3 separate regions of the Homo sapiens genome follow, and regions 1 and 2 are each linked to region 3. Evidence: promoter capture Hi-C in 16 types of primary human blood cells and fetal thymus (Javierre and others, 2016). All regions are on one chromosome and are shown on one strand. Each heading gives the region's core, a stretch centred on a gene start or on the middle of the fragment in contact. The rest is flanking DNA. Distances are from core to core; before and after follow the strand shown. Region 1 overlaps PLCH1 (phospholipase C eta 1). Region 2 overlaps PLCH1 (phospholipase C eta 1). Region 3 holds the start of PLCH1-AS2 (PLCH1 antisense RNA 2).

Region 1 (3,193 bases), core at 637-3,136, 230 kb before region 3:
GGGCCCTGCTGTTCTGTGCAGTCTTGGGACACTGCCCCCTGCATCCCGGCTGCTCCGGCATTAGCCTCTGCTCAAAGAGCCTCAGATACAGCTTGGACTGCTGCTTCAGAGATTTCAAGCCATAAGCTTTGGTGGCTTCCATGTGGAATTAAGCCTGTAGGTGTGCAGAGTGCAAGAGTGAATGAGGCTTGGTAGCCTCCCCCTAGATATCACAGGATTTACAAGAAAGTCTGGATGCCCAGGCAGAAGCCTGCTGCAGGGACAGAGCCCTCACAGAGAACCTCTACTAGGGCAGTATGGAAGGGAAATGTGGGGATGGAGCTTCCACACACTGTCCCCACCAGGGCACTGCCTAGTGGAACTGTGGGAAGGGGGCCAACTGTCTTCCAGACCCCAGAATGGTAAAGCCACAGGCAGCTTGTATACTGCTCCAGGAAAAGCCACAGGCTCCCAGCAACCTGTAACAGCAGCTGCAGAGGCTGAACACTGCAAAGCCATAGAGGCAGTGCTGCCCAAGGTCTTGGGAGCCCACTTCTTGCACCAATGTTCCCTGAATGTGGGTCATGGAGTCAAAGGAAATTACTTTGGAGCTTTAAGATTTGATGACTGCCCTGCTGGGTTTTGAGCTTGCATGGGGCCTGTGGCCCCTTTCTTTTGGTCAATTTCTGCCTTTTGGAACAAGAATGTTTTCTTAATGCTGGTACCACCCCTGTAACTTGGAAGTAGAGAACTTGCTTTGGTTTTACAGGCTCATAGGTGGAAGGAACTCATTTCCAGATGAGACCTTGGACTTCGGACTTTTGACTAGGTTCATGCTGGAATGAGTTAAGACTTTGGGAGACTGTTGGGAAGACATTATTGTATTTTGCAATATAAGGAGGACATGAGATTTGGGGGGCCAAGGGCTGAATGATATAGTTTGAATACATGTCCCGGCCAAATCTCATGTTCACTTGTAATTTGCAGTGTTGGAGTTGGGGCCTGGTGGGAGGTGTTTGGGTCATGGGGAAGGATGACATGGTGCTGTCATGCCTTGGTGCTGTCCTCACGATAGTAAGTGAGTTCTTGTGAGATCTGGTTGTTGCAAAGTGTGGCACCCCCCATCGTATTCTCTTGCTCCTGCTCCTGCCATGTCAGATGCCTGCTCCCACTTTATCTTCCACCATTAGTAAAAGCTTCCTGGGGCCTACCCAGAAGCAGATCTGGTGCCATACTTCCTGTACAGCCTGCAGAACCATGAGCTAATCAAACCTCTTTTCTTATAAATTAGCCAGTCTCAGGTATTTATGCCAATGCAAGAATGGCCTAACACACAAGATTTGAATGAAGTAACTAATAAGTTTGAGCTGATAGACATGAAGATCACACCTCCTAACTTCAGAATACACATTCTTTTCAAACACACTAGAACATTTATGGAAAGTGACCTCAAACTATGTCATCAAGCAAGTTGTAATTATCAAAGGATTAGTGTCATACAGACTAAATCTCTGACCACAGTGGAATTAAACTAGAAACTATAACCAAAAGATTACTATGAATAGTTGTAGAAATGTGTTTCAAAATAATCTTGGGTTTAAAAAGAAGCTGTAATAGTATTCAGAAAATATTTTTAACTGAATGATAACAAAAATACTATGAGTCAAAACTTGGGGGTTGGGGAAGTAGCTAACACATGCTTAACCTTAATTACTTATATTTAAAAAGATGAAAACCTGAAAACAGTTAAACGTTGAAATTAGAAGGTTAGAAAAAGATGCAAAATAGGCCCAAAGAAAACAAATGGAAGGCTAAGTGCAGTGGCTCAGGCCTATAATCCTGGCAGTTTGGGAAGCTGAGGTGGGAGGATTGCTTAGGCCAGGAGTTCTAGACTAGCTTGGGCAACACAGTGAGACCCTGTTTCCACAAAAAATTAGCTGGGCATGGTGGTGTACACCTGTAGTTCTAGTTACTTGGAAGGCTGAGGCATGAGGATCCCTTAATCCTAGGAGGTTGAGGCTGCAGTGAGCCATGATCATGCCACTGCACTCCAGCCTGGACAACAGAGTGTTACTCTGTCTCTTAAAAAAAAAAAAAAAAAAAAAAGAGGCCAGATGTGGTGGCTCATTCCTATAAACATAGCACTTTGGGAGGCTGAGGCAGGCAGATCACTTGAGCTCAGGAGTTCCAGACCAGGCTGGGCAACCTGACGAAATCCTGTCTCTACAAAAAATACAAAAATTAGTTGGGTGTGTTGGCGCATGCCTGTGGTCCCAGCTACTCGGGAGGCTGAGGTGGGACAATCATTGCTTGACCCTGGGAGGCAGAGGTTGCCGTGAGCTGTGATTGTGACACTGCCCACCAGCTTGGATGACAGAGTGAGACTCTGTCTCAAAAAAAAAGAAAGCAGATGGAAGGAAATGATAGTAATAATTCCATGTTATTCAATGGAGATTACTGTAAAAGCTAGCAATATTGACAAATACCTGGTGAGATTGATTTAAAAATAAGAGAGGCACAAATAAGCCATATCAGGATTCAGAGAATAGATGTTGTAGATATTAAAATTATATGAATAATATTATGAACAACTTCATGCTAAAACATTTGAAAGCTTAGAGAAAATGAATAAATATCTAGACAAATATAACTTACCAAAACTGACTTAGAAAAAATAGAAAGCCTGAATAATGCTGTAATTTATAAATAAAATAAACCAGTAGTCAAATATTTCTTCTTAAAGGAAAGTTCAGGCTCAACTGGTTTTACTAGCAACCTAATTCTTCCAGGAAATAGAAACTCATTTTGTAAAGCTATGATAACTTCGATATAAAAGCCTTTTGAGAGCAATATGAGAAATGGAAGTTATAGGCCAGCCTTGCTTGGGAACATACATGTAAAAATCATAAAACATGAGCAATTCAAGTCCAGTAATGCATAAAAAACAGAAGAGGACTCCTTCAAGCTCTGGATACATATTATATACTCTAAACCAGCCCTTTCAAATGCAGCATCCCGGGTGTCTTTGGAGGGTCGATTGCGCCTCATTGCTTAACTAGCTCAGAGCATTTTCAGCTCCTGATTGCATTAGAGAAAAGAAAACACACCAGGAACTTGGGATTTAGTGGTGTCTCCTGTGAGCCTTAAAAAATGAACAAAGTACCCTTTTATTTCTTTCCCTTTGTGTACATAGCTGGGAGGGGGCTAGGCTGTG
Region 2 (3,207 bases), core at 329-2,828, 210 kb before region 3:
TTTTGGACTGTAAACTTTGTAGTTAGTGTTGCACTGGCAAAATGCTGCATTTCCCTTTAGGGGAGAGAGGTAGTGGTGTGTGTGTGTGTGTGTGTGTGTGTGAATGGTCACAGGTTTCTCCTGACCATGGAGAGACCAATATCTAGGACTGACACACAAGCTTTCAGGACAAATGTGATTATATTCAAAAATGAAGAGTGAAAAGCTCTCCCTCACTGGAGTTCCATCTGCACTGGAAGAAAAGAGAAGAATTCCAGATCCTGACTGGAAAATATGCAAGGAGAATGAAATTATGCAAAAGTGAATTAGGGTTCCAATTGATTTCAGCCAGTTTATTAGACTTTGGCAGCCTGCCTGCTTTAGGTTTGTGGGGCATCACTAGATTTTATGTTAGAGTAGCATTTCTTTACTGAATCAAAGCCTAGCTTTTCCAGCCATAACTTTATAAGTCTCCTTTTCTAGGTCCAGAAAATACCTGTGCACATAGAATTCCTATTATTGCAATGACAATCAAGATTTCATGAACATCATTAAGATTAAAAGTATCAGGCTGGGCGCAGTGGTTCACGCCTGTAATCCCAGCACTTTGGGAGGCCGAGGCAGGTGGATCACCTGAGGTCAGGAGTTTGAGACCAGCCTGGCCAACATGGCGAAACCCTGTCTCTATTAAAAATACAAAAAATTAGCTGGGTGTGGGAGTGGATGCCTGTAATCCCAGCTACTTGGGAGGCTGAGGCAAGAGAGTCGTTTGAACCTGGGAGGTGGAGGTTGCAGTGAGCCGAGATGGCGCCACTGCACTCCAGCCTGGGCAACAAGAGCAAAACTGTCTCAAAAAAAAAAAAGATAAAAGATTAAAAATATTATCATTAAATTATTAGAGAGGACCAGGGAAAAATTTCAAAGACAAATTGAGAGGAAGAGTTAAAAAAAAAAAAAAAGAAGATAGGCCTTAAGGGAGAAAATATATTTCATTCATTTAAGTTTTATAAATTATAATAGAACTAATTCTGGAAGCAGCGTTGCCAGGTAGATTTCTTTTATTGGCCCCACCCAAAAGGCTCTCTACCTCCCATTGATGGCCACCAAAGCAGAAAGCATCAGGGCAGGTATCCTTTCAGGCCTATGATGTTCAGGTGTATCTTGCAGGTGGTGAAGATTTAGACAGAGGGAAGCATGGCCTGACCCAGGTGTGACACTTTGTAGGGGTTCCCACTGGCTGAGTTACTCTGGGTGAGTTGTTCTCTTTGGGACTAAGTTTTCCATATCAGCAAAATGCTGGCATTTATGGAAAATGACCTCTAAGTTTCTAAGCACTAAAATTTTAAGAAATGCGAGATTGTCTACCTCCCCTACTCACCCTACTTTTAAACACAGGCTAATTGGAGAATTTGCTGTGAGTTAACTGACCACATTGATTTATCTCCTTTTCTTCTTCCCCTGTCTGAGGGAAATCATAGCCATCCATTCAGGCCTTACAAAAGAGGATATTTATGTCTAGTTTAGAACACAAAGGAAAAAACCTTTAATGTGAGCTGGTATGAAATATACTTGTTCTATGACCTTTTGGGAACATATACTCTTCTTTGATGTCTTGGAGATACAAAAAATTCTCAATGAAAGCCTCTCAGTGAATGCTATTTATTTATATTTTAAAATCTAAAGTTCTTTCATTTTTTTGGTCTTTATGATGAGCATTCCATTTGTAACTGGTTTATTGAGCATTCTCAACTTAGTGTAGCATATATGCTTCAGTGAATGCTTCAGAAAATACTTTGTCCCATTGTAGCATCTTGGATAGGTTCTATTACTTTCTGGCTAATTTTGGCTATTAAGTGTCCAGTCCATTTTAAAATTTTAATCTCAAATTCATTAAGCCCTCTTACCCGCTGGCCTGGCTGTTGGTGGTTGAGGGTGGGAGTTCCTTTGTCTCTGCTATACTCCTTCCCCTTGAAGGAGAATTCAAGGCCCTGTTCCACAGATTTTGGTACAAAGAAGAGAGAGCAAAGGCTTTTTGTCTCACATGTCCCTGTTGTATGTCAGCAGCGGTGAGGTGATCCAGACTCCCTCTGCTTCCATCTTCTGTAGATTCTCAGTTTTATCCTGGCTCCCTCTGTTACCAAGGACCCTCCTGAGAGGACCTGCCATCTTGCTTCAGCCTCATGCCTTCTCTGCTGTCAGTTTCCTCTGGCTAGAGCACAGCTTCCTGTGCCCCTGAGGACACTGGGGCAACTGTCTGGCTCCTGCCCTTTCTCTTCTCTCCGTATTTCTTCATGTGGAGCTCTACAGACTGAAAGGACTTGAAAGATGGAATGGGGTGTGAAGTTGCCCCTTGCTCTTCTCAGACCTGCTGATGACAGTCTCTTCTCACACTGTAGGGGCTGCTCCCCTATGTTACCAACTTAAGCAATCTCTTCAGTCATTCTTTTGTAGCTCTTCCCCTGCTTCTTTCTGGGGGTGAGGGGTGTTTCCTCCAGTTTCACTCCTCAGAGTGCCATCTCTGCCACCCTGGGCATTGACGATATTATACGCCTAACAGCGGCTCAGGTAATGTGATTTTGATGGATGGAATCCCGGCCCCCCAACCACTGACAGCTCTCCTTGGACTCCTAGAGTCACTCTAGGCAGGTCCTTGTTCACTAACATTTTAGATTAGGGCGACTTAATTTCCCTAAAGCTACTGGTGTTCTTTATTCTGTTTGCTTTTTGCAGCATTATGTAGCTGGATTGATCAGACCCAAGCAATGATCTGTATGTATAAAAATCCATGTTGAGGTGTATCAGCCTCTATTCCTCATCGGGAATCTAATTCAATGAAGGGATTTTTCTGAGTAACTGAACCCACTGTGATCTCTCTGTCATGCTTTCTATGCAAGGTCATTTATCTTCTGCAACGATGGAGGGGATGAAAAGGTGCTCTTTAAATGGCAAATTGGAGATCTGGATGTATGGGAAGCCCAGGTGGATGAGAAGTGACAGTGTTCATTCTTTGAAGCTTTAGCTTTCAATTTTCTGAAACAAGCCTATTGCTGCCAAGTGAAAGCCTTGGATGGCTTTTTCCATGAGATTCTCCAACTCTTTCTCATAAACCTGTGGCCATTGAGAGTCCAGCCAGGCAGAAAGGCCCTTGATTGTTTTATTCCTTTATGCTTGGGAATACCAATTTTCTAATTGGCAATTGGAATTGGTAATTTTCTAATTAATTAGAAA
Region 3 (3,230 bases), core at 416-2,915:
ATAGAACTCATTTGAGGTTTACAAATCAATAGGTTGTCCTCTGGTCATGTCAAGTAATTGGGGACTTGGTTACCAGTATGAATTTTCAGGACCACACGGGATTTGGAGGGACTGTTAAAGCATTGAATGGGGCCTAGAAATGTCCCGTGCTCTTTGCCAGAAAATCTGTATAGCTGGAAGCTTCCTCATCTGTGAATGTGGGATAAAAATAATACCTATCTCATAAATAAATATATATCTTATCCTTAGAAAGCTGCCTGGTACGCAGTAAATGCTCAGAAATGTTGGCTAATATTAATGTTATTATGACTACAACCTAACTAATAAGGAATGGACCATTTCAGCATGAATTAGGGAGTGTAAAGTTTATTTTCATATCTGTCAGCAAGGGCGTGGAGGTGGGGGTAAGGATCCTAATTTCTAAGACTCGTGAAGTTTTATACCATAACTTCCTGTGTTTAGTCCTGGATTTCTGTTTGTGCTGCTTGTTGGGGTCTTGCCTCTCATCTAAGTAGACACAAATGTAAATAATTCAAAAATGATTCTTGAATTCTAGGAATCCCAGGTTAACTACAGATTATCTCTAGCATTTATCACATTGAGGGAAACAATTACATTCTGAATTTGTTTAAAACTTGAGCCAGGGCCAGGCGCGGTGGCTCACGCCTGTAATCCCAGCACTTTGGGAGGCCGAGGCGGGTGGATCATGAGGTCAGGAGATCGAGACCATCCTGGCTAACAAGGTGAAACCCCGTCTCTACTAAAAATACAAAAAATTAGCCGGGCGCGGTGGCCGGCGCCTGTAGTCCCAGCTACTCGGGAGGCTGAGGCAGGAGAATGGCGTGAACCCGGGAAGCGGAGCTTGCAGTGAGCCGAGATTGCGCCACTGCAGTCCGCAGTCCGGCCTGGGCGACAGAGCGAGACTCCGTCTCAAAAAAAAAAAAAAAAAAAAAACAAACTTGAGCCAGAAATAAATTAAAATCTGAAAGTGTTCTATATCACCTCCATCTTCTCTGCTAAATAAATGTCCATTTATGAGTCATACTCTTTATTCCTTTCAAGATGTGTTCGGGTTGGGATCCACACATCACAGTGTAGTGGATATTGGTTGAACAATGAATGAGCATAAGACTAAAAATCCCCAAAACTAAGAGAAAGGGTTTATAGACATGTATGCATTTTTTCTTTTGTGTTTACTTGTGACACCCTCTTCAATGAGCCCCAATTGTGTTTTGTTGTGTTTTGTTTTTTTCCTTTACAGTGGAGCCCTTTAATACTCAACCCCAGTTATACTATATTGCACTTTCTAGGAGCTACAAAGGTAGTTTCTCAGCATGGTGCTTTGTTCTGGCTGGCATATTTCTTTTTAAGTGGTTATGGCAGCATGCTTTTTCATATCACTCCATCTTCCTGCTTACCACTTTGAAACATGCATCTGTTGCTTTAAGGCGCCTGAAGTTCATAGCAGTCTATGAGCTGTGGAGACTTTTCCTACCACTTTGTCATCTCTGGGTAGGAAACTTCTGGGAAAGCTTGATGTAAGAATGGAAGGCTGAAGTCCTTGCAAAGTAAGGTTGATAAGATGTGCATGAAGTTGTGCAAACATGCTGTGAGCTGCTGCTTTCTTGGTTTGAATATATTTCAATGGCTGTACGATTTTGGTTTATATTCATTTTTCATGGAGCTGTCATTTTCAAGGCAAGTTGTTGATGTGATGGCATTTGCTTAACTTGTGGTTGGTTCTTTTGTGTCTTCAGAACAGACAACTCCAGGGTCTGAAGGGACTGTTCAATAAGAATCCTAGGCACAGTTCTTCAGAAAACAATTCCCATTATGTACGGAAGCGATCCATTGGAGATAGAATTCTGCGACGCACAGCTAGCGCCCCAGCCAAAGGCAGGAAAAAGAGCAAAATGGGCTTCCAAGAAATGGTGGAGATAAAGGATTCTGTGTCCGAGGCCACAAGAGATCAAGATGGCGTGCTGAGGAGGACCACACGCAGTTTGCAAGCACGCCCTGTCTCTATGCCTGTTGACAGAAACCTTCTGGGAGCTTTGTCGCTGCCTGTATCTGAAACAGCAAAAGACATTGAAGGAAAAGAAAACTCTCTAGGTAAGATGCTTTAAGTTTCTCTGAGAATAAACCCTTCTAGGCTGCATGTCAGTCCCTGTTTACCATTATGAAGTGGCTGACATTCTGTAGTCAAAGTAAAATATACTGAAAAATAAATACTTTGTAATGTGATCTTCCAGACCAGAAGATTTTAAACTTTGGGGGCCAGGTAGATCCATTTCCTCCTCACCAAGAGCTTCATAATATCAACATCTGAAATTGACAGTGAGGGATAGGGGAGCCATTAGGTGTGATGGCACAGAGAGGAAGATGAAACCTGCAAAATAGGATTTGAAATATTGATTTTCCAAATGAGTGCCATATTTACTGATTTGTTTTGAGGGTGAATATAGTTGTATTACTTTTCTTACCATATAACACATTTCCATGATTGGAAATGTTTATGGAGAAAGAAAGCCAGATGTTAAAAACGAGCCACCTTTTTCAAAAACAGGCAAATCTTTTTTCTCAAGATGTGGCTCAGGCAGTGTTTTCCTGTGGCCTCACTTCCCTGATCCTTGGATGCTGACAGAGATAGAGGTGTGCCTGCAGCTTCAGCACGGTTGTGGGCTCCACAAGCATAGGGACCAGGTGCTGCCTGTCTTTTTCCTTAATTTGAGTGTATCATTGACTCATATCAGGAGCTCAATAAAGAGTGAAGACCGCCTTGCAGTGTGCCAGAGAATTTTTGACTGATGTTGGTGACTCCCAACCCATCCTATCTGGGGGTAAATTTAAGCGCCAAAACTGTGTGCATTTGATATCTCTGCAACAAATATGTTTTAATTAAATCAGAATCATCTCAGACAAGTAAAATGTGGTACTGATTTCCTTTAGCAAAATTATTCTTTTAACTTTTATCAAATGGTCTAATTTCAGTGCTCTCTTTTCCCACAAACACCATTTTACTTGTATTGATTTTTGTTACAAGATATTCTTCAGTGGTTTATTTGAAGGAGAAAAAGAACATTTAAAAGCTTGAAATTTTGCTAAGAGCAGTGTCAGAGAAGAGATAAAACATGTGCCTTAAAATGTATTTTAAAACCCCATCTTTGGGAAAAATAAAGCTATATTCAGTAGAAATTGGTTCTATCTGTTAATGCCACAGTTAAGATGTT

The links. Contacts are between HindIII fragments. The CHiCAGO score rates a contact against its expected background, and 5 or more counts as called.
Region 1: a fragment that was not itself captured here is called in contact with the fragment with the promoter of PLCH1-AS2 in region 3 in 1 of 17 cell types (megakaryocytes); the score reaches 5.3 in megakaryocytes.
Region 2: a contact is called between a fragment that was not itself captured here and the fragment with the promoter of PLCH1-AS2 in region 3, in 2 of 17 cell types (megakaryocytes and fetal thymus). The highest score is 6.4, in megakaryocytes.

Annotation. Positions count from the first base shown.
Region 1 is chr3:155,714,499-155,717,691 of GRCh38, reverse strand. All of the region lies in intron 1 of PLCH1 (phospholipase C eta 1), which reads left to right. Among named protein-coding and RNA genes, the nearest start is that of PLCH1, 29 kb to the left of the region's middle. The HindIII fragment of the contact is 1,418 bases long and covers 1,178-2,595 here.
Region 2 is chr3:155,696,718-155,699,924 of GRCh38, reverse strand. The region is part of intron 2 of PLCH1 (phospholipase C eta 1); the gene reads left to right. Among named protein-coding and RNA genes, the nearest start is that of PLCH1, 47 kb to the left of the region's middle. The HindIII fragment of the contact is 2,832 bases long and covers 163-2,994 here.
Region 3 is chr3:155,484,238-155,487,467 of GRCh38, reverse strand. It overlaps PLCH1-AS2 (PLCH1 antisense RNA 2), which reads right to left and starts at 1,665. Exons shown (of 2, transcript NR_146955.1): 1 at 1,419-1,665; 2 at 347-507. PLCH1 (phospholipase C eta 1) reads left to right here. Exons shown (of 23, transcript NM_014996.4): 22 at 1,758-2,112. The HindIII fragment of the contact is 1,557 bases long and covers 1,535-3,091 here.